7 separate regions of the Homo sapiens genome follow, and all the other regions are linked to region 3. Evidence: promoter capture Hi-C in 16 types of primary human blood cells and fetal thymus (Javierre and others, 2016). All regions are on one chromosome and are shown on one strand. Each heading gives the region's core, a stretch centred on a gene start or on the middle of the fragment in contact. The rest is flanking DNA. Distances are from core to core; before and after follow the strand shown. Region 1 holds the start of ZNF784 (zinc finger protein 784). Region 2 holds the start of NLRP9 (NLR family pyrin domain containing 9). Region 3 holds the start of GP6 (glycoprotein VI platelet). Region 4 overlaps TTYH1 (tweety family member 1). Region 5 overlaps LOC105372460 (a long non-coding RNA gene). Region 6 overlaps LENG8 (leukocyte receptor cluster member 8). Region 7 holds the start of CCDC106 (coiled-coil domain containing 106).

Region 1 (3,372 bases), core at 412-2,911, 590 kb before region 3:
TGCCATACATTGTCCAAAATACTTTATATATAATGACTTCTTTAATCATCATAGCAACTGTGTAAAGTAGGTTTTATTATCACCCTCATTTTGCAAATTAGGAAACCTGGACAGAAAGAGCTGACTTAAGCATTAGACACAGTAGTAGATACAGTGCCTAGGGCCCATGATACTCTTAGGGACCCACAACATTTAAAAATTTATTTTAGGCCGGGCGCAGTGGCTCACACCTGTAATCCCAGCACTTTGGGAGGCCGAGGTGGGCGGATCACCTGAGGTCAGGAGTTCGAGACCAGCCTGGCCAACATGGTGAGACCCTGTATATACTAAAAATACAAAAATTAGCCGGGCATGGTGGCGGGCACCTGTAATCCCAGCTACTCAAGAGGCTGAGGCAGGAGAATCGCTTGAGCCCGGGAGGCAGAGGTTGCAGTGAGCCATGATCATGCCACTGCACTCCAGCCTGGGCGACAGAGTGAGACTCCATCTCAAAAAAAAAAAAATTATTTTAAAATCAAAAGAAAAGAAGGGAAATATAGCTTTGGAAGACCAAGGCAGAAGGATCGCTTAAGGCTAGGAGTTCAAGACCAGCCTGGGCAAGGCAAGACAGCAAGATCCCCATCTCTATAAAAGAAGAAGAAAGGAGGAGGAGGAGATAATTCAGCCTAAGTGGTGTTTATCTTTATTTTATACCAACATATCACAAAATATAATTTCATATATATTTATGAATGAAATGATCATGCTTAGGATCATGTTTAAGTATCTCCTATCCTGCCCTTTCAAGAAAACTATTTAAAGATGTTTCCAAACTCTTCCATGTCTCTTCTCAGTGGTTTGTCACAATGCTTCTACAGTGCTACACAAAAGAAAGAGAAATGGTCCAGAGAAGTGTAGTGACTTATCCAAGGTGATACCACCAGAATGACTAAACGGGGCAGCTAAGAAGAGCCCCGTCCTTGATGCTGCTGAAAACCCCGCGTTTTTGAGCTCTTTCCTCCCAAACATAACATCAGCTTGCGGGTTTTTGCGTCCTCCCAGGACCACCTGTGTTGCTGTTTACTGAATATTTTTCTCCACACTGCCTTTTTTTTTTTTTTTTTTGACAGAGTCTCTGTCACTCAGGCTGCATGCAGTGGCGAGATCATGGCTCACTGCAGCCTCGACCTCCCGGCCTCAAGCGATCCTCCCACCTCAGCCTCCCGAGTAGCTGAGAATACAGGCATGAGCCACCGCACCCGGCCTACACCGACGTTTATAAACTTGGCGTCATTACGTTGTCATGAGCAGTGCAGAGGTAATCACAAAAACGTTTACCGTGGAAACAAAGCAAAGCTTCTTCAGTTCTGCTGAGGTTCCCCTGACAGCCAGAGCCTCGAGTCGGCCTGCGTTGGTTTAGAAGGAACGTTCGGATTTGTTCCCAGGGTGTTACAGGCATCCTAGCGCCACACAGAGCGTACCCTCGGAGGGACAGACAGGTAATTAGAGAGGGAACAACTCACATTCTCCCGGGCTCAGCCGCCACGCCCCGCCCCGCCACGCCCCCTGCTGCACCACGCCCCCTCGCAGCCCCGCACTGCGCCTGCGCAGTAGCTCTTACGCCAGTTCGAGCCCCACCCCCTTTCAGAGCGAACATTGGCCTTGGGGGCGGGGCTTGGGCACAAGATGGCCGCTGCGCGCCCAGAGGCCCAGAGTCGGAGCTCACCGACTCCGGAGTCGCGATCCCAGGAGCCACTGGACCTGGTGCGGGCAAGGAAGGGGCCTGGGCGTGGGGCTCGAGGTGGGAGGAGGTCGTAGTGTGGGGGGCGGGTCCGGGGCGTGGCCTATGAGGGGGTGGGCGAGGGAGGTATTTAGTGCTATGGCCCTGGGGGTGGGGCTTCTTGTGGTTTCGCGAGGGGCGGGGCAGGGGAGGAGACTATGTCATGGTGGGCGGGGTGGGGGAGGGACCTATGGGTGGTGGGCGGGGCCTGGATGGGGGCGGAGTCTGAGGACGGTGTTGTCTTGTGGGACGGGTTTGGGTCCAGGGAAGGGGGCTTACCAGGGATAATTTGCATAATTTGGGTGGAGCCTTGTAAGGGGCGGGGCCTCATAAATTCTAGGGCTAATTCTAGGGTAGAAGGTTGGGAAGGTGACCCTGAAAAACGTGGGGGATTATGATTGGAGCACCTATGTCGGGGTAGGGGATAATTCTTCAAGGGTCTTAGTGATGCTTCTCGAATGCCCAAGGGAGAATTTGGGGGTAGAAGTGGGTGGTCTAGGTGACTTTGGAACTTCCTCCACGTTACCCCACTCAGAATTAGACTAATTGAGGACATTCATTCATTCAACAAACATTTACTGAGCTCCTACTTCGGCTCTGTAAATAGAGAAGTGACCAAGACAGACAAGGGTTGTGTTCTTTTGGAGCCTGCAGTCTCTTGAGAGGAGAGAGACAATAAAGGAGAGTTACTGTGATATGTTCTATAAAGGAAATAAAAATTGAGCCAATTTCTATAAATTGAGCCAAGAGTAGGGGTGGGGCAGCTAAATTTAGACGAGAGAAGTCAGCTGGGTGCCGGCTTATGTTTAAGCTGGGGTCAGAGAGATAAGTGGAGCTACATCGCCACAGATATTATAGTGACGATTTGGGATAAGTCATTTGGAGCCACTGGAGGGTTTTGAGTGCGAAAAATGACTTGATCTGATTTACATTTTCAAAAGACCTTCAGGCTATTCCTGGGAGGTGGGTTACAAGCCAGCAGAAATAGGAACAGAGATGCCCTTGGGTTTTTCAATTTTGGAGGCGCCAAGTGATGGGGCTTTAACTAGGGTGGAGGACAAAAGGTGGGATCCATGATATATTTTGGACAGGAGAGGAAATGTTGATGAGGATACAACAGAATCCTGGAGGATGGGCCGGGCGCGGCGGCTCACGCCTGCAATCCCAGCACTTTAGGAGGCAGAGCCAGAAGGATCTCTTGAGCCCAGTAGTTGGAGACCAGCCTGGGCAACATAGTGGGACTCCCTCTACATTAAAAATAATAATAATAATTTTTGTTTGTTTTGCTGTCTAAGATGGAGTCTTGTTCTGTCGCCTGAGCTGGAGGGCAGTGGCATGATCACATCTCACTGCAACCTCCACCTCCTGGGTTCAAGCGATTCTCGTGTCTTAGTCTCCCGAGTAGCTGGGATTACAGGCAGCAGCCACAACACCTGGCTAATTTTTGCATTTTTAGTAGAAACGGTATTTGCCATGTTGGCCAGGCTGGTTTCGAACTCCTGACCTCAGGTGATCTGCCTACCTCAGCCTCCCAATGTGCTGGTATTACAGGCCTGAGCCACCGTGCCCAGCCAGAAATAATTTTTTTTTAACTAGCTGGATGTGGTGGTGCA
Region 2 (3,319 bases), core at 569-3,068, 700 kb before region 3:
CATGTGACCATAGATGGTATGTAACCTTTGCTAATGGTTTGTAATTATCTGAAAGGTATATTAGCTCAGATACAATGATATTGCGTTTGTCATCATCTCCTTATGTGTAAAGTGGTATTCCCAGGTGCACATATGCTCATGAGTTCTAGATCTTGGGGAACTGAATCTTGGTGTTCAAAAATTCTTAGTCCATTTAGTGCTTTCTAGCTTGAGTGTTTTTCAATGCTGATATTTTATACTATTAATACTTTTTTGGGTAAGAATTTGCCAGGCTTTTTCTTCTTCTGTTTTACTTCTCTGTGTATTTTCTAGGATTCTCTTATAAACAGCATATAGCAGGATTTGTATTTATCCAATGTGAGTCTATATATTAGTGAGCAATTTTATTTCATTCATATGTGTTAAGATTATATTTAGGCTGGGCGCAGTGGCTCAAGCCTATAATCCCAGCACTTTGGGAGGCTGAGGCAGGTGGATCACCTGAGGTCAGGAGTTCGAGACCAGCCTGGCCAACATGGTGAAACCCCATCTCTACTAAAAATACAAAAAAAAAAAATTAGCCGGGCATGGTGGCAGGTGCCTGTAATCCCAGCTACTTGGGAGGACGAGGCAGGAGAATCATTTGAACCTGGGAGGCAGAGGTTGCAGTGAGCTGAGGTCATACCATTGCATTCTAGTCTGGGCAACAAGAGTGAAACTCTATCTCAAAATACATATCTATATATATTTGGTATTATTTTTGCCACCTGTCTTATTTTGTCTACCATATATTTCTACTTCATTTCCTGTCTTTTGTTGAATTGCAATGATTATCTGAAGGGTTTATAATACTGGGAACGTTCACTGCTCTGTTTCTGTCTGAGTTGTCTGCAGATGCTAACCTATAGTAAATCTAACTTTTTCCTTATATACTGTAATAAGAAGGCATATACCGGCCGGGCACGGTGGCTCATGCCTGTAATCCCAGCACTTTGGGAGGCCGAGGCGGGTGGATCACGAGGTCAGGAGATCGAGACCATCCTGGCGAACACAGTAAAACCCCATCTCTACTAAAAATACAAAAAAATTAGCCGGGTGTGGTGGCAGGCACCTGTAGTCCCAGCTACTCAGGAGGCTGAGGCAGGAGAATGACGTGAACCCGGGAGGCAGAGCTTGCAGTGAGCCGAGATTGCGCTACTGCACTCCAGCCTGGGCATCAGAGCGAGACTCTGTCTCAAAAAAAAAAAAAAAAAAGAAGGCATATACCACTAAACGATAAAAAAAAATTTAAATTTGCTTTTATGTCCTCTTCCTTTATTTTCATCTTCCTGAATGTGATCATCTGTAATTTTAATATCCGTTCATTTTTTCATTATCAAAATTGGATTAGACTATACTAAGGATGGGAAGGTCTACAGAGCAAACAAACTCATAGAATGCTGGTAGGAATGTCAGTAATTATATACACAAGGGAAAACCGTTGAGTGTTATGTAGCAAACATGGTGACCTGTGTTTGCTGTTTGACCTATAATTTATAAATCTAGAGAAATGTGTGCTTATATACACCAAACTACACAAAAACACTTGTTCCTGGAAGCATCATTTATGTCAGACAAAAACAAGACACATAAGTGGCAGTCAACTCTACCATTCACATGCATTTGTTTGGAAAAAGATGAAGCTTCTTCCCTAGATGATGTTTGGTGCAAGCTACGCATGATGATATCAATAATTTTGAGCTGCTTTCAGCTGCTGAAGCTTAACTCTGTAATCATGTCATTCTTCTCCAGGTATCATTTATTCTTTATTTTTGAGGATCTTTCTTTTCCCTCTGGAGACACCTCAGTTCACAATCCTGGGGCGATATGGCAGAATCTTTTTTTTCGGATTTTGGCTTGTTGTGGTATCTGAAGGAGCTCAGAAAGGAAGAGTTTTGGAAATTTAAGGAGCTCCTCAAACAACCTTTGGAGAAATTTGAACTCAAGCCAATCCCCTGGGCTGAGCTGAAGAAGGCCTCCAAAGAAGATGTAGCAAAGCTGCTGGACAAACATTACCCAGGAAAGCAGGCATGGGAGGTAACACTGAACCTGTTTCTACAGATCAATAGGAAAGATCTCTGGACAAAGGCTCAGGAAGAGATGAGAAGTAAGTGCTGGATGATGGGGCGAGGACCCATGGGGGAAGCCTGGGAACAAGGTGATAGCATTGTTAAATGAGTGGCCACCCCCTCCATCAGATGAGAATGTGTGTGGGTCAAGGTGAGAGTTGAAGGTAGGAAGAGTTGCAGGCCAGGGCTGTTCATATGTGGGCCAGCGATGAACTGGGGACAGATGGCGTCCTGATACCAACTGTTCACCTATGGAGTGTCTTCCCATTTTTCCACCCCAAGTGGAGTCGTTGTTATAGGAGATGAGTGGCCAGTTAGTGTCTGCATTGCCAGGTCTACTGAGATGGAATTCTAGTATGGTAGTTGCCTATCTTTTTTTTTTTTTTTTTTTTTTTTTTAGAGAAAGGGTCTTGCCATGTTGCTCAGGCTGGTCTTGAACTCCCAGGCTCAAGTGATCCACCTGCCTAGGCATCCCAAAGTGCTGTGATTACAGGAGTGAGCCACCATGCCTAACTGCCTGTCCTTTTTGACCAGACATGTACCAAGGAGTAGGTAGAATCTTAAGACAATCAGACAGCGTATGTCCCGGGTACTACAGGAAGCATTCTTGCGAGCTTGTTTGGAGGTTCTAGTAGGGGAGCACAGCTTCTCTTCTGCCCGCGATGGAAGGACCTTCCTCTATGGGCAAAGGTTGTCATCGTCTTTGACCCAGGGGAGACTTTCAGGACGGACGCATATGGAGCAGTGAGGGAGGAAGTGGACACCCACCCAGCTGGCCACATCAGCCGAATTAGCCCTGGGGCGACCAATGGGGTGACAGACATCACAGCCAGGTTGTCCTCACGTCCTGGAAGCATTCTTTCTGCATAATGTCTTTTCATTCTTATCACAACCCAGGAAAGGTTTACAAGTGAGAAAACTGGACAAAACAGTGTTCCCATGTGTTACATGACTTTTCCAAAAGTGACAGATCTGACTCCGAACCAGTTCTGCTGGACTCATTGATGGGGTCTACACCCTCCTCTCGGGGGATACTTAGGAAAAACTAAATATATTCCCTATTAGGTATCTAGTAATTAGCATTTGTTTCTGATGATTGTTATCTTCTCCCTTTACTTTTGAGTTCCATCAACTTCTGTTACGTTTACTTCTGTTTTGTTCATGTTTCTTCTTTGTGTTGGTAATTCTAATTTGAGACCTTATTTCGTATCCCCACATGCTTGAGGGTATTT
Region 3 (3,873 bases), core at 290-2,789:
CAATGGCGCGATCTCGGCTCACCGCAACTTCCGCGTCCCGGGTTCAAGCCATTCTCCTGTCTCAGCCTCCGGAGTAGCTGGGACTACAGGTGCCTGCCGCCATGCCCGGCTATTTTTTTTTTGTATTTTTTGGGGGTTTTACTGTGTTGCCCAGGCTGGTCTTGAACTGCTGAGCTCAGGCAATCTGCCTGCCTCAGCCTCCTAAAGTACTAGGATTACAGGCATGGGCCACCACGCCCGGCCTTATTTTTATTTTTGAGACAGTCTCACTCTGCCGCCCAGGCTGGAGTGCAGTGGTGCGATCTCGGCTTACCGCAATCTCTGCCTCCCAGGTTCAAGCGATTCTCATGCCTCCGTCTCCCAAGTAGCTGGGATTACAGGCACCTGCCACCATGCCCGGCTAATTTAACGCCCAGCTAATTTTTGTATTTTTAGTAGAGATGGGGTTTCACCATGTTAACCAGGCTGGTCTCGGACTCCTGACCTCAGGTGATCCGCCCGCCTCGGCCTCCCAAAGTGCTGGGATTACAGGCGTGAGCCACTGTGCCTGGCTGATTTTTATTCTTTTAGTTAAGGCTGGTTGATATTACCTTGTGTGTATATACCACATGTTGTTTATCCATTGTTGTTGATGGACATGTGGGTGGTTTCACCTTTTGGCTATTGTGAATAAAGCTGCTATGAACACTGTGTACAAATATGTTAGAGACCCTGTTTTCAGTTCTTTTAGGTGTGTACCCCGAAGTGGAATTGCTGGATTTTATGGCAATCCCACGTTTAACTTCTGGAGGAGCTGCTGGAACTGTTTTCCACAGCAGGGGCGCCATGTTACGTCCCTGCCAGCAATGCACGCGCAGTTCAATTTCTCTGCATACTCACCAATATCTGCTGTTTTCCATTAAAAAAAATTATAGCCGGTCGGGTGCAGTGGCTCATGCCTGTAATCCCAGCACTTTGGGAGACCGAGGCAGGTGGATCAACTGAGGTCAGGAGTTCAAGACCAGCCTGGCCAACACAGTGAAACCCCATCTCTACTAAAAATACAAAAATTAGCCTGGTGTGGTACATACCTATAATCCCAGCCACTTGGGAGGCTGAGGCAGGAGAATCGCTTGAACCTGGGAGGTGGAGGTTGTAGTGGGCCGAGATGGCGCCACTGCACTCCAACCTGGGCAAAAAGAACGAGACTTTGTCTCAAAAGAAAAAAAAAAAATACAGCCATTCCAGAAGGTGTGAAGTCATATCTCACTGTGGTTTTGATGCGTATTTTCCTAGTGACATCAGGGAGTTTATGGGAGCACGGGAACACAGACCAGGCCCCAGCAGGCGGACAAACGGTGCAACGCCAGGCTGGCCAGAGGAGATAAGCGCGGCTCCTTGGAGCTTGTGTGCAAGTCACTGTACTGAGGAGCCGGCTACGGCTCGATGAGTCTCAATTAGGAAAGGCCGGGGCTGGTGGAGGAAGGGAGGAGAGCATTCTTCATCCTCATCACATCCTGAGCCTGTGCCCCAGGCTCCCACCACTTCCCTCCCTGGCCACAGAGCTCAGGACAGGGCTGAGGAACCATGTCTCCATCCCCGACCGCCCTCTTCTGTCTTGGTGAGTCCTGAGGGTCAGATCTGGGAAATGCTGAAGGACAGGCATGGACTGCCAGACAAAGGATTTTTAAGAAATTTGCATTGGTGATGAATTTCAGGACAAAAAGGAACCTGTAAGAGCCCCTTCATTTGTTGGGTGGGGAAACGGGGGGCCAGCGAGCTGGCATTTTGCATGAGTTATTCCAGTGTATTCATGGCTGGGTCAGGAAATGAACAGAGTATCCTAGCATTGGTCACAACTTTGTTCTACTACACTGCAGTTGCCCCTTTTTTAAAAAATGTGGGCCAGGCACAGTGGCTCACGCCTGTAATCTCAACCTTGGGAGGCCGAGGTGGGTGGATCACCTGAGGTCAGGAGTTCAAGACCAGCCTGGTCAACATGGTGAAACCCCATCTCTACAAAAATTAGCCGGGCGTGATGGCGGGTGCTTGTAATCCCAGCTACGTGGGAGGCTGAGGTGGGAGAATTGCTTGAAACTGGGAGGCAGAAGTTGCAGTGAGCTGAGGTCAGGCATTGCACTCCAGCCTGGGCAACAGAGAGAGCCTCCATCTCAAAAAAAAAAAAAAAAAAAAAAAAAAAGGCTGAGTGCCATGGCTTACACACTTTGGGAGGCCGAGGCGGGTGGGCCATCTGAGGTCGGGAGTTTGAGACCAGCCTGACCAACATGGAGAAACCCCATCTCTACTAAAAATACAAAATTAGCCGGGTGTGGTGGCACATGCCTGTAATCCCAGCTACTCTGGAGGCTAAGGCAGGAGAATCGCTTGAACCTGGGAGGTGGAGGTTGCGGTGAGCCAAGATCACACCATTGCACTCTGGCCTGGGCAACAAGAGCGAAACTCCGTCTCAAAAAAAAAAAAAAAAAAATTGTGGAATTGATATCTGGACTAGGTATGGATTTAATTTGTCAGTATCCCCTACAGTAGTGGAGTAAATAGTCTCCTGATGGATGGGTGGCAGGTCGAATGCATTTCTGCTGCCTGATCTTCACTTGTGCTGGGCATGTCGAATGCATTATTTCCTGATTTCTTCAGAATTTGACCACTAAAGGGACAGCATCTCCAAAAGGCTAAGCAGGAAGAAGATGGTTGCATTACTGGAGATGAGAGGGTTAACTGTGAATATAAACAACCTCTCATTCATTATCCATCCATGGATGTATTCTTTTTTTCTTTTTGTTTGTTTTTTGAGATGGAGTCTCGCTCAGTCGGTCGCTCAGGCTGGAATGCAATGGCATGATCTCAGCTCACTGCAAACTCTGCCTCCCGGGTCCAAGTGATTCTCCTGCCTCAGCCTCCCGAATAGTTGGGATTACAGGCATCTGCCACCAGGTCTGGCTAATTATTGTATTTTTAGTAGGGGCGGGGTTTCACCATGTTGGCCAGGCTGGTCTCAAGCTCCTTACTTCAGGTTCCACCCGCCTCGGCCTCCCAAAGTGCTGGGATTACAGGCGTGAGCCACCGCACCCAGCCTGTTTTAACTTTTATTTATTTAATTTTATTTGAGATAGGGCCTCACTTCTGTCACCCAGGCAGGAGGGCAGTGGCATGATCATGGCTCACTGCAGCCTCAACCTCCCAGGCTCAACCAGTGCCTCCCCATCAGCCTCCTGAGTATCTGGAACTACAGTTGTACACCATCATGCCTGGCTTGTTTTTGTAATTTTTTTAGTTACGGGGGTCCGCTATGTTGCCCAGGCTGGTCTTGAACTCCTGGGCTCAAGCGATCCACCCACCTCGGCCTCCCAAAGTGTTGGGGTTACAGGTGTGGCCTGTACAGGTTACTGCATCTGGCTTGTTGCTTCAGTAGCTTTTGGGATACAAGTGGTTCTTGGTTACATGGATGAATTATATTCTGGTGAATTCTGAGATTTTAGTGCACCTGTCACCTGACTAGTGTACCTTGTACCTAATGTGTAGTTTTTCATCCCTGCCCCACTTCTGCCCTTCCCTTCTGAGTCTCTGAAGTCCATTACATCACTCTGCATGCCTTTGCATACCCACAGCTTAGCTCTCACTTATAAGTGAGAATATACAGATTTTTGTTTTCCACTCCTGTATTACTTTACTTAGAATAATGCCTTCCAGCTCCATCCAAGTTGCTGCAAAAGACTTTTTTTTTTTTTTTTTAAAGACGGAATCTCGCTCTCTCACCAAGGCTGGAGTGCAGTGGTGTGATCTCGGCTTACTGCAAACTCCACCTCCCGGGTTTAAGTGATTCTCCTGCCTCAGCCTCCCGAGTAGCTGGGACTACAGGCACCCGCCACCATGCCC
Region 4 (3,610 bases), core at 243-2,742, 620 kb after region 3:
CCTCACCCTGGCATCACCCTTATGGCTCCCACCACTTCCCTGCCCTCGCCCAGGAGAAGGAGCTGAGGCCCGGCTTGTGCAGCCCCTGGGCCTGACCACAATGCAGAACCTGGACTTCTTCAAACCCAGGCCTGTCTGTCTCTTGCACCTGCTGCCCTGCGGGTGTGTCCTGACCTCCAGCTTTTTCAGCCCCAGTCGGCCTTCCCCGCTGGAGCGCAGCATCCCGGAAGGCCTCCCAAATCTCAGCGCATGCCCCGCGGGCAGGGCCTCCAGCTGACGTCGGATAAATGAATGAATGAATGAATGATTACTAATGGTCAAAGCAATGAGGACACCGTCATGGTGGCCGCTGGGAAGGGTGGCTGCCTGGACACTGCACAGCTCACTGCCTCCTCTCCTCCAAATGCCACCTTCTCAGTCCCCCTGATGAACTGCCAGACTCTGTCCCACCTCATCTCCCTCTATAATTTTCTTTTTTTTTTTTTAAGACGGATTCTCGCTCCGTCACCCAGGCTGGAGTGCAGTGGCACGATCTCTGCTCACTGCAAGCTCCACTTCCTGGGTTCAAGCGATTCTCCTGTCTCAGCCTCCCAAGTAGCTGGGACTACAGGCGCCCACCACCACGCCCGGCTAATTTTTGTATTTTTAGTAGCGACGGGATTTCACCGTGTTAGCCAGGATGGTCTCGATCTCTTGACCTCGTGATCCGCCTGCCTCGGCTTCCCAAAGTGCTGGGATTACAGGCGTGAACCACCGTGCCTGGTCCCCTCTGTAATTTTCTCCAAAGTTCTCATGGCCCAACACCTTACAATGTTTTTCTCTGCGTTTGTCCCTTGCTGGTTCCCCCCGGAGGACGCAGCCACGTGGCAGGGATTTCTGCCACTTGCTCACTGCCCGGCCCGCCACCGGGGTGACTACACTTCATATCTCTGCGGTGCTCTCCCTGTGCTAATCGTCCTTCTCAGCACTCAGATGCCAACTCAACAACTCGAACCAATTCAACAAGGGGGACGCTGCCCCGATTCCCATTTCACAGATGGGGAAACCAAGGCAGAGGTCTGCAAAGTAACTTGATTGCAGCCGCGTGGTTAGGGTGGGGCTGGCTGGCTTTCGAGCTCAGGTTCCTGATCTGTAGGTACGCTGCCTCTTTCACCAGAGGGTGCTAAATAAATAGTGCTGAACAACACTTTGAGAGGCCAAGGCGGGCAGATCACAAGGTCAGGAGTTTGAGACCAGCCTGGCTAACATGGTGAAACCCCGTTTCTACTAAAAATACAAAAATTAGCCGGGCGTGGTGGCGCCTGCCTGTAATGCCAGCTACTTGGGAGGCTGCGGCAGGAGAATCGCTTGAATCCAGGAGGCGGAGGTTGCAGTGAGTCGAGATCGCACCGCTGCACTCTAGCCTGGGCGACAGAGTGAGACTCCATCTCAAAAAAAAAAAAAAAAATAGTGCTGAACAAATACACATGTCACACGGATGAACGACTGAGTGAGTGGCCTGCTGGGTTAGTCCAGGAGTAACTGAGTCCAAGAGTGACTTGCTGAATGAGTGAGTCAAGGAATGAACGCATGTGTGAATAAGTGAGTGGAGTGACGTGGAGGGGGTGAGTGAGTGAATGGGTGAGGACATGGGTGTCAGGATGGCCATGGGGTCTGGTGATCTGTCCCTCCACAGTAGGTTTCTCAACCTCATCTTTTTTTTTTTTTTTTTTTTTTTGAGATGGAGTCTCACTCTATCGCCCAGGCTGGAGTGCAATGGTGAAATCTCGGCTCACTGCAACCTCCATTTCCCGGGTTCAAGGGATTCTCCTGCCTCAGCCTCCTGAGTAGCTGGCATTACAGACATCTGCCGCCACGCCCAGCTAATTTTTGTATTTTTGGTAGAGACGGGGTTTCTCCACGTTGGCCAGGCTGGTCTCAAACTCCTGACCTCAGGTGATCCACCCACCTTGGCCTCCTAAAAGTGCTGGGATTACAGGCCTGAGCCACCGCGCCTGGCCAGCCTCGTCATAATTGTCATGGTGGCTGGATCATTCCCTGCCAATGGGTGGGGAGGGGGTTCTTGTGCATTGCAGGGTGTTGAACAGTTCCTGGGCTCTACCCATTGGATGCCAGCAGTGCGCACACACTCCCCAGCTGTCACAACCAAAACTGCCTCCAGGCATTGCCAACTGTCCCCCCGGGGACTCCGCCTGAGAGCTGCCGGCACAGAGAGCAAGAAGAGCAGCGTCTCACCTGTACTCCTCCACAAAGGACACATTTTCAGCCACCTGCAGGGGGCTCAGGGGCACTCCCTGCCAGAAGGCCAGCCCCTGCAGCTGCTGGGCCGCAGCCTCCGCCTGCCGTCGAGCCCCTCGGGCGGCAGCCACCAGCTCCGTGCGCGGCTCGAGCACCTCCTCCAGGGTGGTCAGCTCTGTCCTCACCGCCTCGCCCAGCCTCTCCACCGTCTCCAACACCTGGGGATAGGACAGGGGCTGAGGTCTGGAAGGACATCCTGGGGGGAGCCCGCGGTCGAGGCATGGGGTTTTAGAAGTGAAGGAGGGGTGCATAGTAGCGGGTGTCTGAGATCTGGAGTCTGGGACATCTGAGGATTGAGTAAGGGAAGGGATTGGGGAGGGGCTTCAAGATCAAGTTCATGGAGTTCTGTGGCCTCTATCCAGAGCTCTGGATGGTTGGTAGCTTGAGCCCAGGGTAGTAAGTCCAGCCCCAGGACTGAGATTAAGTGTGGAGCTTTAGGTCTGAAGTTTTCATCTGCCTTCCAGAATCTGGGGTCTCAAGTCTGGGTCCCATGGTCTAGAGTCTGCAGCTGGACATGGAATCTAAGGCATGAAGTGGGGCCAGGCCTCAGCCCCAGGGCCCAGAATCCTGGAGCTGATGTCGGAGCTGAAGCCTCAAGTCGGGGACCTGGGCCTCAGGGCGGGGGTCCCTGAGCTTGCTTACGGGCCAAGAATCAGGTCTGGGGCCCTGGATCTGGCCCGTGGACAGGGGCTGGTGTCGCTGGTGCTTGGTTTCTGTGTGGCTTGGGGGTTCCAGGTAAGGTCCAGGGCTGGGCCTGTGTGTGAGGTCCTCAATTTGCAGCCAGGGTCGGGGGTTGGGTGGATAGTCTGAGGTCTGTGGGTCTCAGGATGAAGTTCTGAATCTGGGTTCCTAAGCTTCAAGCCTGGGGTCTTAGCTCTGAGTTTGGATCCCTTTGTCCTTGGGTGTGGGGAGCCCGTCCAGGTGTGGGTCTGGGGTCCCACTGGTTGCTGGCCCCTCACCAGGTGGTCAATGGTGCTGAGTGTGTGGTTGGCGTGCAGCAGCGCAGAGCTGAGCTGGGACACCCCATCACTGGTCTCACTGTTGCCATAGAAACCGATGCCAATGCCAGTGCTGAGCGGAGGAGGAGGGAGAGGAATCTCAGCGGGTCCCAGGACCCCGGGGGCCACCGTCCCCTCCCACCCCATCCCCTCCACCTCGCCTTCTTATCCACCCCTCCCATCTCAGCCCCACCTCATTGGGCCAGCCCGTGGGAAAAGGGCGACTTCAGCCTGGCCCCCGTCGGTTGCCAAGGGAACGGGAAGGCCTCACTCCCCCAGCGGAGGGACGTCATTGTGATGTTAATGGTGGGTGG
Region 5 (3,785 bases), core at 1,256-3,755, 520 kb after region 3:
GTCTAGGGGATGTGATAGATGTCTAGAAATAACTACAAAACAGGTAACTACGCACTATGACATTCGTATGTGGAATCATTCCTTGGCTGTGGGTGATTAGAAAATAGACTGGCATAGCTCTTCTGTTGCGGAAAGGGAGTCATGAGGAAGTGATGTTTGAGGACACAGGTGAGTGGTCAGGAGGAGGCACTGAGGACACAGGTGAGAGGTCAGGAGGAGGCACTGAAGACACAGGTGAGAGGTCAGGAGGATGCACTGAGGACACAGGTGAGAGGTCAGGAGGAGGCATTGAGGACACAGGTGAGAGGTCAGGAGGAGGCATTGTCTATGTTTGCGAATCTCTCTCAATATCTGTTTCACATTCTCTGTCACTGTCTAACTTGTTTTCTCTTTAACTATCACAAGTTCTCTGTTTCTCCCCCTTTCCTTCATCCCCTCCTCTGGCCCTCTAATAAGTTACTTGGTGTTTCTATGTTCTGGTATTTTTCTTCCTCTACTGGCGGTTTGATCAACAACCACATCACCCTGGGGAGTTTCCTGGGCACCAAAAGACCATGAATGGTCCAGCCACACTCACCTGTGATCACAATGTCCAGGGGGTCACTGGGAGCCGACCACTCATAGCAGGAGTGACTGAAACAGCCACAGCACCTATAGGCTTCTGCACGGGCAGGCGTTATAGGACCCATGGAAAAGACAGCCTTGAAGGAGTGATCCCCAGCCTGGATCATCCTACCATACTGCTGGGAATGTTGTGTGTGCCCCTCTTTGTATAAGATAAATTCATCAAAGGCCAGCTCTGAGTGACAGCGCAGGCTCACGCTGGCTCTTGCGTGCACCAGGGGGCTTGGGTGCGCTGAGATGCAGGGTTTTGTGAACAAGCCTGAGAGCAGAGACAGAGGAGTTCACATGAGTCTCCTTCCTCACCCCTCGCCTGAGACCTCAGGGTGAAGCTGTCCCTCGTCACCCCCAAAGCCCGTCTGCGTCCTTCCTGTTTGTGTGCGTGCATGTTCTCTCTGCGTGGATTCCCATTGTCTGGCTTGAAGCCATATGAAATGTGTGGTTCTCCTGGAAAATGGGAATTAGTCTGTGCTTTGAGAACTTTCAGAAAACACACTGTAGTGAGGAGGTAGAAATGAATCAGAGGTTTTGAAAGAGAAGAATGAAGAGAAGGTGCTGCTAATTATAGAACAAAGGAAGTCAGATGAAGGAAGTGTTTGGGAGGAACAAAACCACACACTCGGGCTTGGAGGGAGGCTCTGCTTTCTCTGAGGCCAGTTATCCATCTTATCAACACCTCCCCTGCCTGCTGCTTCTCCTGGGGTCATCCATCCCGAGACAGCCCCATCGGCTCCTCCAGTGAACCAAGGCAGAGACTGGAGCAACTCTCAGTTCCTCACGCTCTTCTGCTCCCCACACCGTGAACAAATCCAAACAGCTCTTTCCCCGAGTCCCTCCTCACCCACGTCCCCTGACCCATCCCCACAGTCCAAGCTCAGCTGGAGACTGAAGACATCGTGTCTCTGTCACCACATCAGCCTCCTCCCAGCCCCCTACTCCAGACCCTCACTGCTGCTGATGTCTATTAATTCTCATAGCCCCAAACTTTCCTGTTTCTGGCCCTGATCAAAATCCTTCCACAGGTCTGCATCTTCATCCAAATAAGACACAAGCCTTCCTGTTTGACATTCGTATTGCTGATGATCAGGACTGAGCTAAACTCTACAGCCCCAGAAAACACAGCTCTTCCCTACAGAGCAAACTCAGCACAGAAAACCACCTGGCCCTCCCCAGACACACACACACACCCTGAGATATTAACACATTTGTAGGCCAGGCGCAGTGGCTCACGCCTGTAATCCCAGGACTTTGGGAGGCCAAGGTGGGTGGATCACAAGGTCAGGAGTTGGAGACCAGCCTGGCCAATATGGTGAAACCCTGTCTCTACTAAAAAAATAAATAAAGAAATACAAAAATTAGCAGGGTGTGGTGGTGGGTGACTGTAATCCCAGCTACTCGGGAGGCTGAGGCAGGAGAATCACTTGAACCCGGGAGTTGGAGGCTGCAGTGAGCCGAGATTGCGCCATTGCACTCCAACCTGGGCGACAGGGCAAGACTCTGTCTCAAATATATATATAATGACAAAAGTATTGGCAAGGAGTGGCAGGTGTATACCATAGATGTTTGGGTAGGAGAAATCCTGACTTGTTGAGAATCATCCTTTTCTACCCTATCCCCATCCCTTGTACTCTTTTCCTTTTTCTCTTCTCCGTTGATGCTTTTGGTAGTGTTTCCATTTCTGTCCAACAGCTTTGTGACTCTTCCCTTAGGCAAGAACCTATAGAGTTCCCTACAGGACTTTTCTACTCGCCGTGTCCACAATGAAAGTCAATATTGCTGCTACCCTCTCCCCAGGTCTGCAGTGCCTTTTGGGTATCCCATCCTGGAAATCAGTTTACCATTCCCACAGTCATCTTCTTATTTTATTTTATTTTTTTGAGATGGAGTCTCTCTCTATTGCAGGCTGGAGTGCAGTGGTGTGATCTCGGCTCACTGCAACCTCTGCCTCCCGGGTTCAAGCGATTCGTCTGCCTCAACCTCCTGAGTAGCTAGGGTTACAGGCACCTGCCACTATGCTTGGCTAATTTTTGTATTTTTAGTAGAGATGGAGTTTAGCCATGTTGGCCAGGCTGTTCTCGAACTCCTGACCTCAGGTGATCCACCCACCTCAGTCTCTCAAAGTGCTGGGATTACAGACGTGAGCCACTATGCCCAGCCAAATCTCCCTCTCTTTTAAAAATTTATCTGGCCAGGCACCATGGCTCACACCTGTAACCCCAGCACTTTGGGAGGCCAAGGCAGGCAGATCACGAGGTCAGGAGATCGAGACCATCCTGGCCAACATGGTGAAACCCCATCTCTACTAAAAATACAAAAATTAGCTGGGCCTTGTGGTGCATGACTGTAATCCCAGCTACTCCAGAAGCTGAGGCAGGAGAATCACTTGAACCCGGGAGGTGGAGGTTGCAGTGAGCCAAGATCACACCATGGCACTCCAGCCTGGGCGACAAAGCGAGACTTCATCTCAGAAAAAAAAACAAAAAACAAAAACAACAACAAAAAACATGATCCACGTTTAATTGCTTTCTTTCCCTGAACACTCCTGGAGGTTTCTCCTATTGCCCCAGTGCGCAGCCCTTCCATGGTCAACAATGAAAATTTTAATTTAACCTATTTGGCTCAACCCCTCACTCCAGCAATTGAGAATAATTCTCCTCCTAAATCTTTCCCCTTGTTTGAGCCTGTAGCTTCTCATAGCTACTGATGCTTCCGAATACACTGCTCTCTCATTTGAGGATGCTCTCTACTCTTTCCTTCCCCTCTTTTCCTCTCTGGATCAATTGTCTATATTTTTGGTACCATCTGAGGGGTTTTCATGGCCAAGGGGCTTTCCTTCACTCCTTAGGAAAAGATAAATTGGTATCTCTTTTGCGTTTCAGCAGCGCCTAAGCTTCTGGTAGCAGAGTCTTATCAGTGCATTGCAGATTTCTCTGTCAGAGTCTGTCAGGGGCAGGAGCTGAGTCTGACTCATTTCCACATCACCTGTTTCCTATACAGGATGTGGCACATCAGAGTCCCGAGTCCCAGGAGATGTTGCTGAGTAAATATTTGAAAAAAACAAATGCCGGCATCCGTCCAGGCTAAGTCTGTAAGCTTGAGATGGGGAGCCCAGAACTTTGGAAAGTAAATCAGGGAATATGTCAGATGTCCAAGGACCTTCAAGA
Region 6 (3,513 bases), core at 871-3,370, 590 kb after region 3:
AGCCCCATGTGGGGGATTTGAGGGCTGAGGGGGCTGAGCCGACGGCAGCTGCTGAGGGGGAGCCTGGTAGGACATGCTCTCATCCATGCCGGGGACTGGGGGCTGCAGAAGGAAGCAGGCGCTGAGCACGGGAGGCAGATTCTGGGGCTGGCGAGTGGCACTCAGCCCTCGCTGTGAGGACGCAGTGGTCACAGCACTCAGCACTCAACCCTCCCGTGACCTTCCCAAATGTGAGTTCATTCGAGTCCTCAGTAACTCTGTGAGGTTAACATTTGTTAACAGCCCTTTTCACAGCTGACAAGGCTCCAGCTCAGAGACTAAGCGACTTCCCAGGGCCCTAAGCTATGAAGCGGCAGCTGGCAGCGTTTCAATGCTGGAGTAACAGCCACCGACAACACACCCACTCCAGCGCTACCATCTGAGCACAAGACACCCATGAGCACACACACTCATGGAGCCCAAGGATGAGGCTACCATCCTTCCCGCTTTCGAGAGCTGACCGAGATGCGTAATTACACCAGGGGTGGGACAGCTGGGATTCAAACCCAGGTCTACCTGCCTCCTGTGCACTAGCCCGGCCATTCCTCCAAGCTGCACATTCAATGCAAAACCCAGCCGGTGTGTGCACGCCTGTGGGTGACCATGCTAGGGAAAAAGATGAGATGTCTTTCAACATCTCAGCCCTGGCCTTGGCTCAGCCTTAAACCCACCCCAGGTTCAAACACTATGCTCTGTCCTCCTCATTTTCAGATCAGGAGTTGCTTGGAAGGAAAAAAGCAGCTTAAGGAGTACAAGCCATTCCTCATTGACAGCTCATTCAAAAATCTACACTTCCTCTGCTTGAGCAGGGTATGGGAGCTGGGCTAGGATGTTACCTGGTTCAGAGTCCCTTGGTGTTGGGGTGCGGATGGCTGCTGGGGTGTGGCTGAGCCATAGGAGCCGGCCATCCCATACTGGGAAGGGGAGCCATAGCTCTGGTACATGCTCTGCAAAGGCGCAGGGAGGGAGGGTTTAGTGGGAGGCCTACCCTTTCCGCTTCCCCAGCCTGCTCAGGAACTACACCAGCCATGACCCTCTACCAATCCCTCACCCCTTTCTCTCTTCACTATATTAATGCACCACATCCTCTCATATATTAGGAAAAGAAAAACCTCTATCAATCCCACATCTCACTTAGCTAGTTCTCGGAAGAATATAATCAACGATACTGAGTGCCAACTCTTCTAAGCACTACGACAGAACAAAAGGAAAACCCATGCTGTAATGAAGCTTGTGCTGGAATTACATGTCCGGCTGGAGACATCAACATGTAATACATCCAGCAATAAGGATCATGAAACAATAAGATGGCAAAGAAAGGGAGAGGGACAGGCTGCGAGGCAGGAATGCTACTTTCAATCAGTGTGTCAGGTAGAGGCTCTCTGAAGGCGGCATCTGAGCAGAGACCTCCAAGAGGCGGCAACACAGGGAGCACTGCAGCCAGGGCAAAGCGAGAGCGGGCCTGGCGGGTGCGGGCATCAAGGAGGTCTCTGCTTCGATGGCCATGGCAGAATGAGCATGAGGAGAGAAGGGACCAGAACCGGGTATGTAGGACCTTGTGGCTCATGGCGGGGACCTAGGAATTTACCTCCTGGGCAAGTTAGAGGGTTTCTGAGCAGTTATCACTGCGATCTCCAGTCCATCCACCACCCAGCCCCATCCCGGCAGACTCCACTTCACCTCGCCCCGACCCAGCAGACTCCACCTCGCCCTGCCCCGCCCCACTGGCTGGGCACTCACCATGGGATAGTAGTAGCTGTAGGGGTAGGCATAGTTGTACTGCTGGTACCACTGGTAGTACTGCTGCTGCTGCAAAGCTGAGGCTTCTGCCTGGGACACGTACTGTGGAAGCAGAGGCACATGTGCCGTCAGCAGCCCAAATCCACAGGCACACGGCCCCCAAAGGGCAAGCCTGTTTACTGGTGGCCAATTGCCAAGGGATGAAACTGGGTCCATGTATCTGCAAAGTGAGCCACTGTCTCTACCATGAGACTCACGCACGTTAGAGACCAGGGGCATGGGCATGGCCTCCCTCTTCAGAACCACATCACGCCCTAATTTCCTCAAGGAAACAGAACTTTTTCCCGTTCAGATTTAGATACCCTGGAACGTCTTTTCATGTTTCCCCTCAGAGCACCCCGTCTGAATGATACAACAGGACGCCAGACTGTGTCCCTCCCACAACCTCTGGCTCAGGGTACCCCAGCCCCATGAGGCCTTCTCACCTGTGCACTGGCCACAGGCCCATTGCTGCTGGACTTGGCAGAGCCGCCGGCAGCTCCTGACTTGCTGATGCTGGCCAGGGCCTGACGGGCCTTCTCCCACTCCGGGTTCTCGTGCATCGGCGTCTCCATGCCATTCTCTCGGCCTGCCCCAGCCACCATGCTGTACTGAGAAGACCTGCAGAGAGAGAGGACATCAAGTCACACCTGTTCTCCCCACTGTACACAGGTGGGCAAGTTGGGAGGCAAATTCCAGCCCCTGGATCCCATATCTAACTGTTACTACCAGTCTAAGCCTAAGTTTTCTAATCTGTACTATGCTGATAAAGGGTTTCTGCTTCAGAGTCTGCTGGGAGGGATAAATGAGATCACCTACTTAAGGTACTTATCCCAGAGCCTGGCACACAGCAGTTGTTAAAACCAAACAAACAAAACAATTAACAGAACCCACAGAACTGAACACAGGCCTTGGCACCTCCTAGGGCTATGTCTTTCATGAATCAATGAATTCTGTCTGACATCACCCCAGTCGGCAGGTTATCACACTATTTTGAGAAAAAATAAGGAATCAGCAGAAAAACAAATAAATGACTGTGTATTGAGTGTTGGGAAGCTGCCTCCTAATTACACTTGCTTGAATGAATCATCACAATTCTGCAAAGCAAGCGCTGTACTGTGAAAAACGAAAGCTCAGAGAGGTGAAAGCTTGCCCCTCTCCACACCACAACCAAATGCTTCCCTCTGTGTTTGCCTCACCACCACCCCCACCCACAGGGATTGTGGCATCACCTCCCCTAAGGCCACGGGAGGTCCCACCCCAGAGGACAGCACTGGGTCTTGCTTCCTCTTTCCCTCCCGACTGGCCTCCATCCCTCTCGCCTCACTAACCAATCTGTGCTACGTTGATCACCCACGTTGGCCGCCATCTGGACCTTGGGGTATAAGGGGTGGACCTCGGGAGCCAGACTGCTTTTTCACTGTCTATGAGAAAAAGAATGAGTTAGGGAGACTTAAGGGGGAGCTAAAAACACGTCACAAAGTGGGGAAGAAAAGTAGATGGACTCAAGAGAAGCCGGGCAGAAAAGGGGAGGCTGACTGAAAAGCCACTGGGGTCAAGGATCTGAAGAGTTCTGGGTGTGGACTAGAAAGGCTGGAGTGAGGGGAAGCCCCTGGCCCCTTTGTAGAGCTCCAGGTGGAAAACGAAGGATTTGGAAACAGGGAAGCCAGAGCAGACTTCCCAAAGGGAAGGAGA
Region 7 (3,439 bases), core at 690-3,189, 610 kb before region 3:
GACTTAATGTCTTTGATGGGGAAGGAGTGCTCATTAACCAAGGATGGGACAGGGTGGGTGGGAAGATGGCCCCTGGTGTCACAGAGGGGAGGGGGGGACAGGAGGAGGCCGGATGGCTGGACTCTTGGATCTTGGAGAAGACAGGGACGGGAGGAGGAGCAGGGGCCCCCTGAGGAAACCCAAAGAACTAGGGTGGGCCTCTTGGCCAAAGAGATGAAGGAAGGTCCCCCTAGGAGTCAGAAGAGAGGGGCTCTCAGGTGCCAGGGTCCCTGAAGTCACCATGGGCCAAGGAAGCAGATGGCAGGGCACTGGAGGCTGATGGGATTTGGGGAGCTGACGGAGAAGGCAGGAGGACGGGCCCCAGTAGACAGTTCATGGGGATGAGGCCCTGGAATCAAGTGAGGAGGCAGCTGGGCCTGGGGGCCCAAAACAGGCAGGGGACTAGCAGATAGGGCCAACATGGCAGGTCCCACCCAGCCAGCCAAACAGTGGAGCCTTGAGTCTGGGTGAGCGGGTACCCAGTAGCGGGACAGGGAGGCATGTGGATCAGAGCACCCCACACACACCTGCCTCCATCCGAGCAGAAGAGATGAATTTGTCCAGCTGGCACCGCAGGAAGTCCCTCTCTTCCTCCAGGTCCTCGATGCGCTTCTGCAGCCAGGAGTTCCTCTCCAGAGCCATGTGCAGCTGGGTCTTGACGCTGTTCATCAGAGCCAGGGCGGAGGACGCAGCCTCCGGAGGCTCTAGGGACACAGCGAGGGTGGGGGGACCAGGTCACACCCTGGGACTCAGGGCTTGGCTTCCCAGCTGACTCCAGTCCCTCCACACCCCCTCAGCTCACCCTCGAAGTTTCTCCGAGAGGGGCTCAGACTGTAAAAGATCTGTGGGTCTAGGTGGGGTGCCTCATCGAAGGGAATGGAGATCTCGAAGGTCTCATCGTCCTTCACTGGAGAGGAGAGGCCCCGGGTTACCCCAGAGAATTCCCCGGGCCTCTCAGGCCACCCCCCAACCACGGCAGCCTGGAGCCGACCGCACTGGGACCCAGGGTAGGGAAGGGGACCCAGCTTCCTCACTTGTCCGCCTCCGACTGCTCCGGTCATTCATGGCGCGGCTTCCTACGGACCCCAGCAGCCGAGGGCCTCAGGGGCACTGGACAGAAACGGCAGCCACAAATGGAGAGACGCAGATGGACTGGAGGGTCCATCCTGGGGGAGGTGAAGTGAGACAGGAGGGACCTTCTGGCCTGGACCCCTGGTCTGAGGGAGGAGGGAGCCTGGACCCCAGGACTGAGGCAAAACGCGCCTGGGCTTCAAACTCCTGGGCTCCTGGAGTCAGGGGCAGGGGGCCCAGCCGCCTAGGTCCTGGGGGAGAAGTGAGCTGGGGACGTGGGCTCCTGGGTATCGAAGGAAAAGGAAGCTGAAGCCCTAAATTGCTGGGTGCCCCAAGGGGTCGCCTGACCAGGGACACCTAGCCTGAAGGGGAAGGACCCTCTCTCATCGCGGGCCACTGCCAGGCCTAAGGAAGAGGCAGGTGCAGGGGGAAACTGCCCCAACTTCCCAGGGTAGGAGGAGGTCCAGCCCGTGCGCGCTGCCTCCTCTACCTTCGGGGCCCCCACACCCCTCCCCCGCACTCGCGTGGGCGGGCGGACCGTCCCCCGGTGGTGGGGGCTGGGCGCGTGCGCAGTACGGGGAAAGGTCACGCGTGGGGGTGCGCCCCCCCCGCCCCCGCCCTTTGTCCCGCGGGTGGGAGGGGGAGCGGTCGTGGAACGATTCCAGCGGGAACATGCACTAGGGCGGGGGTGCAAACGCGGCCACCATCCCCCGCCCGCGGGTGCCCGGGGTCCGAGGGGCCGAGGCCCCCCGCGCTCACCCACCCGCTCGCGGAATCCGGCTCGGGGACCGACGGCGGCGGCGCCCATGCCCGGCGCCGGGGAGCGTCTGCAAAGTGTCACGGGGAGCCGAGGGAAGCGCCCACCCACCCGCGAACAGGCGGGGCGGCAGGGGAGCGTGTCGTGGAACTGAGCGACGGAACGGGCAGGGACGCGGGGACTCGCCCAGTCGGGCCAGGCTAGCGCCCCTCGTTGAAGAGTCCCCGGGTCCAGGTGAGGCCCGCCGTTTGCGGCAGAAGCAGAGGGTCTGCACTTGCGCGATAGCCCCTTACAGCACTCCCCCGCCCTCCCCGAAGCTCAGGCAGGGAACATCACGAAATTCCCATCCTGGAGAGCTGGCGAGTCTCCGGGGGTCCCCGGATTGGGTGGCGGTGTGCCCAATGGGCCCAGAAGGCAGGAGAGTGTTTGAGACACCGAGAAAGTTGGAGCGAAAGGAGAATCTACTTTTAACGCTCTCTCAGGAACTAGCCAGCGCGGACCCCTCAGAGCTCCCCTACCTCCTACAGCCAGACCCCAAGGTTCTCAGGGATGTGGGGGCCAAAATCGGGGGAGTTACCCCTCTCCCGGAAAATGAGGGCCAGGAACACGCCACCCCCATCCCCATGTTGGTAATTAAGAGCTGGCTTTGGAGCAAAGCTAGATTCCAGTCCTGACTGTTCCTGCTCCTCCCCAGCCTGTTAACTCACCTGCAAAATGGGGAAATTACAAGCCCTTCTAAATTTATTGTGAGGATGCAGTGATGCGACACACAGAAGCTCAGCCCAGCACCTGGCCATCGTCAGGGCTGAAGAGAGGAGCGCTGCTGGTATTATTTGAGGTCAGATGGTGGGGTATGATGGCAGCCTCTGGGAGGCTCTTTCCCACTCTGGGGAGTATGAACGGAAGATTTGTTCTTCCTCCCAAAAAAACAGGTCGGAAGAGCAAATGAGGCCTAGCACAGTGCCTGGCACAAAATAGGCAAGAAAAATGAATGAATAAGCAGATGTTTATTAAGCTTCAGGCTCAGCTCCACCTGCCTCTCCTGTTCACCAGAAGCATCCAAGCTCTGGACTGTGGCCAGCCCTTATAAGAGCAAGGTCTTAACCCGATGGAGGGAGAATCTAAATGTCTGCACCGCCTGCAAAGCTGTGACCATGATCCTCCCCTCCCCACTTTACAGATTAACTGCAGCCTGGTCCAAAAATTCCAGGGGGAGCCATCTGCCCTAGATTGGTCTTTTCCAAACTACAGGTTCATGGGTGGAGAATTCAATAGAATAGGATGAAATCAGCAGTTTAAAAAAATATTTAGCCGGGCGTGGTGGTGCACACCTGTAATCCCAGCTACTCAGGAGGCTGAGGCAGGAGAATCGCTTAAACCGGGGAGGTGGAGGTTGCAGTGAGCCGAGATCGCACCACGCTCCAGCCTGGGCGACACAGCGAGACTCCGTCTCAAATAGTAATAATAATAGTTGATGGAAAAAAAAATGCACAAACTAAAGCTAACTATGGTAAAGAAATTTTTGTGGGCCGGGCGCAGTGGCTCACGCCTGTAATCCCAACACTTTGGGAG

What was found. The method cuts DNA at HindIII sites, captures the fragments that hold promoters and counts their contacts. A CHiCAGO score of 5 or more calls a contact.
Region 1: a contact is called between the fragment with the promoter of ZNF784 here and the fragment with the promoter of GP6 in region 3, in 3 of 17 cell types (naive CD8 T cells, total CD8 T cells and total CD4 T cells). The highest score is 8.4, in naive CD8 T cells.
Region 2: a contact is called between the fragment with the promoter of NLRP9 here and the fragment with the promoter of GP6 in region 3, in 2 of 17 cell types (naive CD4 T cells and neutrophils). The highest score is 6.1, in naive CD4 T cells.
Region 4: a contact is called between a fragment that was not itself captured here and the fragment with the promoter of GP6 in region 3, in 1 of 17 cell types (monocytes). The highest score is 5.5, in monocytes.
Region 5: a fragment that was not itself captured here is called in contact with the fragment with the promoter of GP6 in region 3 in 1 of 17 cell types (M1 macrophages); the score reaches 5.9 in M1 macrophages.
Region 6: a contact is called between a fragment that was not itself captured here and the fragment with the promoter of GP6 in region 3, in 1 of 17 cell types (M0 macrophages). The highest score is 5.2, in M0 macrophages.
Region 7: the fragment with the promoter of CCDC106 here is called in contact with the fragment with the promoter of GP6 in region 3 in 3 of 17 cell types (non-activated CD4 T cells, naive CD8 T cells and total CD4 T cells); the score reaches 7.6 in non-activated CD4 T cells.

Annotation. Positions count from the first base shown.
Region 1 is chr19:55,622,855-55,626,226 of GRCh38, reverse strand. ZNF784 (zinc finger protein 784) reads left to right here and starts at 1,661. Exons shown (of 2, transcript NM_203374.2): 1 at 1,661-1,743. The coding sequence starts at 1,666. RefSeq lists enhancers at 1,281-1,430, 1,181-1,680 and silencers at 1,501-1,560, 1,631-1,680. The HindIII fragment of the contact is 2,172 bases long and covers 1,338-3,372 here.
Region 2 is chr19:55,736,901-55,740,219 of GRCh38, reverse strand. NLRP9 (NLR family pyrin domain containing 9) reads left to right here and starts at 1,818. Exons shown (of 9, transcript NM_176820.4): 1 at 1,818-2,125. The coding sequence starts at 1,846. It also overlaps the pseudogene RN7SKP109. The HindIII fragment of the contact is 10,494 bases long and covers 1,741-3,319 here.
Region 3 is chr19:55,035,930-55,039,802 of GRCh38, reverse strand. GP6 (glycoprotein VI platelet) reads left to right here and starts at 1,539. Exons shown (of 8, transcript NM_016363.5): 1 at 1,539-1,600. The coding sequence starts at 1,567. The region is part of intron 2 of GP6-AS1 (GP6 antisense RNA 1); the gene reads right to left. It also overlaps a transcript of RDH13 not described here. The HindIII fragment of the contact is 26,016 bases long and covers 1-3,873 here.
Region 4 is chr19:54,421,036-54,424,645 of GRCh38, reverse strand. TTYH1 (tweety family member 1) reads right to left here. Exons shown (of 14, transcript NM_020659.4): 3 at 3,258-3,369; 4 at 2,236-2,456. Among named protein-coding and RNA genes, the nearest start is that of TTYH1, 7.4 kb to the right of the region's middle. RefSeq lists an enhancer at 1,661-2,461. The HindIII fragment of the contact is 3,325 bases long and covers 1-3,154 here.
Region 5 is chr19:54,518,822-54,522,606 of GRCh38, reverse strand. All of the region lies in intron 2 of LOC105372460 (a long non-coding RNA gene), which reads left to right. Among named protein-coding and RNA genes, the nearest start is that of LAIR2, 18 kb to the right of the region's middle. The HindIII fragment of the contact is 2,017 bases long and covers 1,497-3,513 here.
Region 6 is chr19:54,451,019-54,454,531 of GRCh38, reverse strand. LENG8 (leukocyte receptor cluster member 8) reads right to left here. Exons shown (of 16, transcript NM_052925.4): 2 at 3,150-3,242; 3 at 2,265-2,439; 4 at 1,780-1,881; 5 at 876-986; 6 at 1-102. The coding sequence starts at 3,187. Among named protein-coding and RNA genes, the nearest start is that of LENG8, 3.6 kb to the right of the region's middle. The HindIII fragment of the contact is 1,697 bases long and covers 1,272-2,968 here.
Region 7 is chr19:55,646,712-55,650,150 of GRCh38, reverse strand. CCDC106 (coiled-coil domain containing 106) reads right to left here and starts at 1,939. Exons shown (of 5, transcript NM_001370470.1): 1 at 1,074-1,939; 2 at 842-946; 3 at 567-743. The coding sequence starts at 1,104. RefSeq lists an enhancer at 474-523 and silencers at 1,584-1,713, 1,744-1,863. The HindIII fragment of the contact is 17,145 bases long and covers 1-2,884 here.